Regions from separate parts of the Homo sapiens genome. Here all the other regions are linked to region 1. The links are contacts of gene promoters, found by promoter capture Hi-C in blood cells and fetal thymus (Javierre and others, 2016). All regions are on one chromosome and are shown on one strand. Each heading gives the region's core, a stretch centred on a gene start or on the middle of the fragment in contact. The rest is flanking DNA. Distances are from core to core; before and after follow the strand shown. Region 1 holds the start of TMEM141 (transmembrane protein 141). Region 2 holds the start of GRIN1 (glutamate ionotropic receptor NMDA type subunit 1). Region 3 overlaps MAN1B1 (mannosidase alpha class 1B member 1).

Region 1 (3,091 bases), core at 330-2,829:
TGGGGAGGGTCGGCCTGGGGTCAGGGGGCATGAAGGCTGTGTTCCAGACTCCTCCTGCCCCCAATCCTCTGTGCCCCTGCTGGAGCTCTCCTAGCTTCTCTGATCTGTAAAAGGCAAAGAGAGACAAGCTCGAACCACATCCATCGTGGCTGGGCATCCCTGTGCCCATTTTATCATGGCAGAAACTGGGTTCCGTAACAAGGACAACGGGCAGTGGAGGCCAGGCCTGGGTCCAATGCGGGGCTTCTCAGTCCAGCCTCACTCCTCTCGGGTGCCCACGTGGCTGCTGTGGCCTTGCCACACCCTTCACTCTGCACCCTTCCTCTCAATCTCAGGGGCACCCCAGCCCCTCTTGGTTCTTTCTCCTCAAAGGGAGCTCTCCAAGATCTGTCTACTGCGCCCACCCCCAGCTCCAACCCATCTGGCAGTCACATGCTGAGGAGGCCGGGCCAGAGGGAGGGACCTTGTCTAGCCTATCGCATGGTGCACCCAGGCTTGGCTGCCCAAAACTCTGGGTGCTGGAGAGGTGGCATTCACTTCTCGCTAACCCCCAGGCTCTCTCACCTGTGCTCCTGTCTTTGGGGAGCTGCCCGGTCTCCAGGAAGAGCCAGAGGTTGTTGCATTTCTCCGACTCCACTCTCGTCACCCCGTAGCTGACCACAGAGCCTGCAACTGTGGAGCAGGAAATGGAAGAGGGCTGGGGCCTCTGTGCTTCCCAGGCTAAGAGAACCGGGCACAGGCTACTTCCTGACAGACGTGGTGGGTGGGCTCAGGTGGGGCTCCCGCCGAGACCTGGGGCTCCATGTCAGAGTCAGGGACGCAGAACCACAGCCCCAACCCTAGCAGAAACCCACCCCTCAAAGAGCCCAGGCAGGGGCCCTGGAGTACCCACCCACGGCCACTAGGAGGCTCCACTGCAAAGGGTATGGAAACTTCCTCTGAATGAACATCTGCAAGCCAAAGGCCATGCCGGTGCCTGCAAAGAGCCGAGGTCCCCATCAACCTGTACCCGGGGATAGCCAGGGCCCACCTTGCCAGGCCCCCAGCACCTGCGGGCAGGTGACTTGGCGCCCCCTGCTGGGGAGTCAGGGCAGGGCGGGAGGGTGCGTTCTCTCCCAGCCGCAGGACACCTGGACGCAGCCTACCTGTGACGAAGGTGAAAACGCCCTTCATGAAGGCGTGTGACTGGCATGCGGCATACTCCCCGAGTCCCTGGGGTGGCAGAGGCGGGTGAAGGCTCGATCCCCTGCCCTCTTCCTTCACCGCCTCTCCTGTCCCTCCTCTGGGCACACCCTGGCTGTGGAGGAGTGAGACCCTGGGCGCTTGGACACGTCCCACCTCCCCTATGCCCACCCGGACGCCCTGAGCCCCTTAGCAAGAGAGTGCCCCCAGCCTCCGCCACTCTTCCCTGACGAGGGCACCCCCACGCCCCGGCCCCCCGCCTCGCTCAGGTCAGCTTCTGGGGTTTGAGGCCCGCGTCCCAGACCGGCCTTCTCACCGGGTGCTTGGCAGCCACGGCGTCGTCCACCCGGGACAGACCCAAGTTCACCATGGTTGGCAGGGCTCGGGGAGCGGGCCTGCGCAGGCGCAGGCGGAAGGGCGGGACGGGAACCTGGGGGTGTGGCCCAGAGGACAGGCCTGCGCAGTTACGGACGGAGGGGCAGGGCCCGGATCTGGGGGCGAGGCCTAGGGACCGGCCCGCGCTGGAACAGGCGGAGGGGGCGGGGCCTAGGAGACGGCGCCTGAGGGCGGGTCCGCGCGGCAGCAGGCGGAGGGGGCGGGACCTGGGAGACGTGATCTGGGGGCGGGGCCTGAGAGACGGGACTTTGGAGACGCGACCTGGGGGCGGGGCCTGAGAGACAGGACCGGGGAGCGGGCCTGCGCAGGCGGAGGTGTCGGGTTCTAAGAGGCGGGTCCTGCCGGGTGCAGGCGGAGGGGCCAGGGCCTTGGATTGGGGGCGGAGCATGGATCGAGCCTGCTAGAGCGCAGGGGAGAGGGGTGGGGCCTGGGGCCTGGCCACGCCTCTAGGAGCTTGGGCCCTGTGACCTCCGGCGACGACTGGGCGGGGCGAAGGCGGGCACCGGGCGGGGCGTGGCTGAGAGCGTGCGCTCCTCCCCCCGGCCGGGCCTCATTCCCACACTTGCAGAGGCCTGATGATTGTCAGTGTTATTTTGCTTGAGGACTACAATCAGGGATTGAATTTCTCATAAGCCACCACGGAGTGGGGATGTATAAAATCACTGTTTAGCAAAGTGGTTCTGTAACCAGCAGCTTAGTAGCTGAGCCTCAAACTCCTTTTGTTTTGCATGACAAAGAGTCTTTACTTTCAAATAATTATCGATACACCAAGTAATAACATGTACAAGTTCTTGAATTCTATCATCTAGTAATTTTGATTAAGAGAAACTAAAATCAGCCCAAACAATTCCACTAGTATTCACTGGTGTAACCATTAGCAAGAACGGAGGACTTCAAGTCAGGCTGCTGCTTCACACAGGTTACAAATAACTATTTACTACTTTTTCATCGATAAAGTCCCTGATCTTCAAGAAAGTGCTAGGGAAAAAAATTAACCCCTTCCTTTCTTCAAAGAATTATTATGTGGTTTTTTTTTTTAAACTAGATCAAAGAAAGAAAAAGTCAACACTGATATACGTGTTGCTTGAGCCAAAAGGCATGGGAAAAAAGACAACATATAACCATTAAATTCCTAAGAAATATGAGGTAAAAAGATGAAATCTTGGCCAGGTGCGGTGGCTTACGCCTGTAATCCCAGCACCTTGGGAGGCCGAGGCAGGTGGATCACAAGGTCAGGAGTTAAATACTAGCCTGGCCAAGATGGTGAAACCCCGTCTCTACTAAAAATACAAAAATTAGCCGGGCGTGGTGGCAGGTGCCTATAATCCCAGGTACTGGGGAGGCTGAGGCAGGAGAATCACTTGAACCTGGGAGGTGGAGGTTGCAGGGAGCCAAGATCGTGCCACTGCACTCCAGCCTGGGCGACAGAGTGAGACTCTGTTTCAAAAAAAAAAAAAAGGCTGAAGTCTTTAGATAATTTATAAGTCTGTACAAAAAAGCTAGATTTGCTACT
Region 2 (3,091 bases), core at 150-2,649, 350 kb before region 1:
TGTGATGCTGAGGTGCATGAGTGTGTGCTAATGTAACATTTGGTGTGAGTGTGAGCATGTGTGTCCACAGATGTGGTGTGTCCATCAGGTAGGCACGTGTGAGCGGTGCTAGGCTGGATGTCTGTCTTGCCTCTTACATAAAGGGCTGCATTGCAGATCCTTGCAGCCTCATTGGAATTCAGCAGGCGCTCGGCCCAGGGGCGGACAGCTCCGACAGGCAAAATCCCAGGAGCCACGTCCTCCCCCGCAGCGCTGGCTGCCGACAGCTCCCATGCCCTGATGCCTCTCGCGTGTGCACCCCCACTCCCACCCCCACAAAGCGTCCTGCCGTGGCACCTGAGCCATTTCTCTTCCCAGGCGGACCCATCGGTAGGGGGAAGGGACGAAAGAAAGGGCAGGAGAACCTGGAAGCAGAAACAAAGATGGCCCCAGGCCCCGTCCTGTTTAAAGCTCTGCAGGGCGGGCATGTAGCTGGACAGGCGCTTCTACTCTCTTACCCGGAATGCCCACCCCCACACTGACACACTCCAGCCCCACGTCTACACACACCAGTCAGGGCCTGGAGCCCCAGGGGCCCTCTGAGGACCAGCCAAGGTGGCAGGTGACTGGTCTCAGGCCAAGATAGGGGAGCCAGCAGACCCTGGTGTTTGGTTCCTAGTGAGACGAGGCCTCCCGGAAGCAGCCAGCTGACTCTGGGGTGGTGTCTTACAGGGAGGAAGGGGGCACGGAAAGGATGGAATGAAACTGGGGGTGTGGGGTTGCAGGATGGAGGAGAGGGGAGGTGGGTGGCGGAGGTGGGGGAGGGCACCTGGCTGGAGATGAGGTCCTCGCACACCGACAGAGCCATCTGGATGGCGTTGGGCTTGTGCGTGACGGAGGTGGCATTGAGCTGAATCTTCCAGGAGCCGTGCCGCTTGTTGGCCTGGTTCACGGCCTCGCGGAACATCTGCTCGTGCTTCCGCGTGCTCAGCACCGCGCCAATGTTGACGATCTTGGGGTCGCACGCGGCACGGGCGACGGAGCAGGAGAACAGCAGGGCGAGCGTCAGCAGGCGCATGGTGCTCATGGGCTCGGGCCGCGGGCCTGGCTCTGCGCGGCGCGAACGCGGGGCCCTCGGCGCATCCCCCGCGGGGCTTCCGGGCCGTCCTGCGCTCGCCCGGCCCCGCGGGCTGCGGACGCCACGTCTCCCCCGGAGCGGCGGTCCCGGGACGTCGGCCGAGGGAAGGGGCGCTGAAGCGTGCGCGGGGGCTCGGGGCTCAGCCCCACGCGGCCGGCGCTGTCCGCGGTGCTGAAGCGGGGCCGGGCACAGCTCCGAGCGCCCGGCTTGGAAAGGGCCCGGCGGCGGCGGCGGCGGCTCCGCGGACGGCGCTGGTTCCGGTCCGGACGCTGCGGCGACTGCAGCAGCTGCAGAAACGCGAGCGGGGCCAACGTCTCCTGCCCCTCCCGCCGCCCCCGCTTCCCAACACGGAGGCGAAGGGGGCGCCTCCCGCGCCAGAGCGTGCGCCTGCGTTCGCGTGAGCGTGTGTGTCGGAGCGCGCGTGAGCCGGGGAGCGCGCGTGTGCGTGTGAGCGCGTGCCTGGAGGGGTCCTGGGACAGGGGCCTGTGCTGTCGGGGACCTGCAGGGAGCTCAGTTTGGAAACGTTAGAGGGGTCCGTGTCACCGCGTGCAGCCCGCACCCTTGCGTGCCTTTTAATAGGACCGAACGCGTCGTGCCCGCTTGTATGTGTGTGTGCGCGCAAGAGTCGTCACCCACAGTCAGCGATATTTCGGCTCCTGACTCTTGCAGACTGGAGCTCCAGAGGGGTGGGGGAGGCCCTAAGCCATGGCTCTGGGGGGCGCTCCCTTCAAGGTTCCCCTCCCCACAAGGTTCAGAAATGAGGGAGAGGCCCCATCTGCGTGGCCATGTAACTTGGGACCCCCCTCCTCGGGCTAAGAGGAATAGGGAGGGTGACCGTGGCTGCCGCATGTGCTCAGCCAGGCCTTCCGCGAGAGCCTGGAAACTGGACCCGCACTGACTGGGGCTGAGGTCGGACACCAGGAATCACTGGAGCGCCGCGAGGTGTGTTCGGGGCCAGCCGTTTCACACCCTCAGCTTCCGCTCCTCTCTCCCTCTCCAGCCCCCTCGCAATGCGCTCCCAGCGCCCCCTTTTCCAGAGCCTTACCCATCCCTCTGGTCCACACCACCCTGTCTTTGTCCCCCTCCACCCCTGGAGTGTGCGTGCCCCTCCCTAACTTGAAGGATGGCTGAAGCTCCGCCCCTGCCAGTGATGTCACCATTTCCAATAGCAACTGAGGATTCTGCAGACCTAACAGCAAACGCCCCCAATGGGACAAAACAGGGTCGTCACCACACCTCTGCTATGTGCAGCAGTGCAGCAAGGGAAGTCATGTGCCCACAGGGGTCACACTCTCTCTCCCGCTTGCCGTTCTCTCCATCAGCCGAACACTGGCACCAGGGACCCCCTGGAGCTGAGAGGAGGGGGAGGGGCTGTGGTGTTTGACAAGCTCCTCCTCTTGGCCCCTTCTCTCTCAATACAGGAAAATCTTTCCTTGGGGGATCACCTGCCCGTACCCTGCTGCAGACCCCGCCTCTCCCCGTTCGGGTTGAGGCACACGGGTCATCCGCCTCGGGGCCCTCACTCCTTCTGTTGGCTCTCAGGAGGGTGTGTGTGGGTGCTCAGGGGGACTGAGCTGGCCCTATCTCCAGGAGTTTGTGGCCCATCTCCAAACTTCCACCTCGGCAGGGCACAGTGGCTCATGCCTGTAATCTCAATACTTTGGGAGGCAAGGGCAGGTGGATCACCTAAGGTCAGGAGTTCGAGACCAGCCTGGCCAACATGGTGAAACCCTGTCTCTACTAAAAATACAAAAATTAGCCGGGCGTGGCGGCAGGCATTTGTAATCCCAGCTACTTGGGAGACTGAGGCAGGAGAATCGCTTGAATCTGGGAGGCGGATGTTGCAGTGAGCCAAGATCGCACCATTGCACTCCAGCCCGGGCGACAGAGCAACACTCCATCAAAAAAAAGAAAAAAAAAAGTATCCGCCTCAGGCAGGCCAGAGCCTGGCAGCTGCGTGGGGGTAGACCTGAG
Region 3 (3,091 bases), core at 1-2,500, 310 kb before region 1:
CAACGTTCAGGTCACCCAGAGGCCTCGTCTACACCCTTTCATGCAGTTCAGTGGAGACACTGAAGGCTCTCTGGGGTCAACACAGCAGCAAGGAAACGGGCATCACTCTGCACTGAGTGAATGTCTCTACAAGGCCAGTGGTGATCAAAGTGGCTTCATCAGCTCACGAATATGAGCTCAGAAACAGACTCCAGTGCATTTGAAGAGGAAACAGGAAGACAGTCACGTCCCCACAAGTCCACTAAAGGGGTAACTGCTTGAATGCGAGTCCACCATCTCCCTGCAGGACACCCCAAGACACTTACAGCTTTCCTCAGGAAGAGGCTGTCCCCAGACAGGTGGTAGGCACTCAGGAGCCCCCCCAGGATGCGGATCGTGCTCTCAAACAGGTTGACGTCCACGTCCTTTTCAAAGTGTAACTTCTTCGACACCCACTTCCTGGCTTCCTCAAATTCTATGACATAAAACAGTAAAGGATGCAGAGACAAATGGATGGCTCCAACGTTTTCCTATTATCTATCCATCTTCAAAATACATTTGGCTGGGCGTGGTGGCTCATGCCTGTAATCCCAGCACTTTGGGAGGCTGAGGCAAGTGGATTGCTTGAGCCCAGGAGTTAGAGACCAGCCTGGACAACATGGGAAAACCCCATCTCTACTAAAAACACAAAAATTAGCTGAGTATGGTGGCGCATGCCTGTGGTCCCAACTACTGGGGAGGGTGAGGCATGAGAATAGCTTGAACCCGGGAGGCGAAGGCTGCAGTGAACTGAGATCGTGCCACTGCACTCCAGCCTGGGCCACACCACTAGACTCTGTCTCCAAAAAACCCACGTTTGAAACCAGGAGGCCAAGGTTGCAATGAGCCGAGATTGCGCCATTGCACTCCAGCCCAGGAGACAGTGAAAGACTCCATCTCAAAAACAAAAAAACAAAAACAAAAAACCAAACCCATGTCTGGGGCGTTATCGTTCCCCTGCAGGGCTTCAATATCACCTCCTATCTCAAGGGGGTAAATCTTGAAGTCGTCAACATTTGTTAATAAAACGGAGTCAGCAGTGCAGTTGCTATGGCCACCAATGGGTCACAACCAAAGGCTACGACCCAAAAAAATTACACACGTCGTTTACTGGTGGTCTTCAACCTATTCAAAAAATTAGGCAAATGTTTAAATTATCGCTTAAATAACCGAAGACACATACTCCCAATTCAAAGTGGATGTGCTGGTCTATGAAGGATGCTGCTGAGATCTGGGACCAGCGGGGCCCCACAGTCACTCATCCCACCACCCCCAGCTGCAAGAGAAGCACAGCCTGGGAATGTCCCTTGGACGTCCCCCAAAGAGTCCACACTCAACTCCTGCAGAGGTCTGGGGACAGCGGCCCTGTGTGTGCCTTGGGTGGCTGGACAAGAACAGGAACTGACCACAGCCAACACGTCCACTCCCGCACCCAGGAGAAGGGAAAACCCATGGTCAGATGCAAACAGCAGCTTTCACCCCGTGTGCAACCCACACTCTGCCTCAGCACACGAGGCCCACACGGAGGGCTCAGCCCCTCCCCAGAAAGCACCAGGTACCTTTCCTCAGACCCAAGATCCACATGGTGTCCAGCGCGTCGATCAGTGTGAGACCGAGGCCAAACCACTCACTGAAGGACCTGGACACAGGCTTCAGCTCGTCATGGCCCCATGCAAACTTGCGGTATCCTTTCCATGCATGCAGGAAGACGTCAATCACGCCCTTCTGGCGATAGTTCAGATGCACTAGTAGGGGGGAGAGAGCACAGGCCATGGCGGACGTGGTCCTGGCGTCGGCACAGATGGACACCCTCAGGCAGAGCACTGCTGTGACCCCCATGGGGCAAAGATGACGGTGGGTTTGGGACGACGGGAAGGGCGGTGGTGGGCACAGCAAAGGCCAGGGCCACAGAGGCTGCAGCAGCCCCCAGGGAGAACACAGCCTGCCAAGGGCCTGAGACCTCTGGAGACTGCACAGGATGGCACCTGTCACCCGACCACCTGACTGGGGCCCATGCACCTCCACCTGGCGCCTGGGCAGGCACACCCTCCTTGGGCCTCGGTGGCCTCTGGCCAAAGGGACAAGGGTGGCTGCCCCAAGGGCGCTGGGACAGCACAGTGAGCACAGCCTGTGGAGACGTGGGTGAGTGTGGTGCCAACTCAGAATGTGAAACACGGACGGGTGCAGACCTCGCGATGAACATCCTCGACTCAAACACGCTCCTTCTGCCACGTGGGCTTCAGGTGCTCCACGGGAATCGCACTGTGCACACGCGCTACAGTCCCTTCGTTCCCTTTTTTTAAATTTTTTTGGCTGGGCACGGTGGCTCCCGCCTGTAATCCCAGTACTCTGGGAGGCCGAGGTGGGCAGATCACCTGAGGTCAGAAGTTTGAGACCAGCCTCGCCAACATCGCGAAACCCCGTCTCTACTAAAAATACAAAAATTAGCCAGGTGTGGTGGCGGGTGCCTATAATCCCAGCTACTAGGGAGGCTGAGGCAGGAGACTTGCTTGAACCCAGAAGGCAGACGTTGCAGTGAAGTGACAAAGCAAGACTCTGTCTCAAATATACACATATATATAAATTTCTTTTTTTTTTGTAGAGATGGGGCCTCACTGTGTTGTCCAGGCTGGTCTTGAACTCCTGGACTCAAGAGATCCTTCTACCTCAGCCTCCCAAAGTGCTGGGATTACAAGTGTGAGCCACCACGCCCGGCCAACATTGACTAATGTGTGGATTGACACGTGTGTAACGGCACCAAACCACACGTCCTCTCAGGAAAGGTTCTGAGGCCTCCTTGTGCTCATGGCATGTCTATGCCTCTGCCTCTGCCTCTGCCCTCATTGATGCCGCAGAGATTGCTACACATCCCTCACAGGCCCGGGGCTGGGAGTCCTGGCTCTGGGCTCCCTCCCCACCTCAGAGACACCTGGGGGGCATGATGAGAGCAGGGCTCCAGACTCAGCGACCTGCCATGAGCCCCCACAGACAAGCAAACGACTCTGGGGGTGGCTGTCCTCAGCCCTGCTTTTCAGTCTGGAGAACGGGAGGGTGAGTGGCTTATCGTGTCAGA

The links. The method cuts DNA at HindIII sites, captures the fragments that hold promoters and counts their contacts. A CHiCAGO score of 5 or more calls a contact.
Region 2: the fragment with the promoter of GRIN1 here is called in contact with the fragment with the promoter of TMEM141 in region 1 in 1 of 17 cell types (erythroblasts); the score reaches 6.0 in erythroblasts.
Region 3: a fragment that was not itself captured here is called in contact with the fragment with the promoter of TMEM141 in region 1 in 5 of 17 cell types (naive CD8 T cells, total CD8 T cells, non-activated CD4 T cells and 2 more); the score reaches 10.3 in naive CD8 T cells.

What each region holds. Positions count from the first base shown.
Region 1 is chr9:136,789,832-136,792,922 of GRCh38, reverse strand. TMEM141 (transmembrane protein 141) reads right to left here and starts at 1,579. Exons shown (of 5, transcript NM_032928.4): 1 at 1,499-1,579; 2 at 1,146-1,212; 3 at 893-976; 4 at 565-672; 5 at 1-104. The coding sequence starts at 1,552. The coding sequence ends at 91. RefSeq lists a silencer at 1,153-2,192. The HindIII fragment of the contact is 4,968 bases long and covers 1-3,091 here.
Region 2 is chr9:137,137,462-137,140,552 of GRCh38, reverse strand. GRIN1 (glutamate ionotropic receptor NMDA type subunit 1) reads right to left here and starts at 1,399. Exons shown (of 20, transcript NM_007327.4): 1 at 809-1,399. The coding sequence starts at 1,066. RefSeq lists a silencer at 1,562-1,856. The HindIII fragment of the contact is 14,343 bases long and covers 1-3,091 here.
Region 3 is chr9:137,098,368-137,101,458 of GRCh38, reverse strand. MAN1B1 (mannosidase alpha class 1B member 1) reads right to left here. Exons shown (of 13, transcript NM_016219.5): 6 at 1,578-1,763; 7 at 306-454. Among named protein-coding and RNA genes, the nearest start is that of MAN1B1, 13 kb to the right of the region's middle. The HindIII fragment of the contact is 8,732 bases long and covers 1-3,091 here.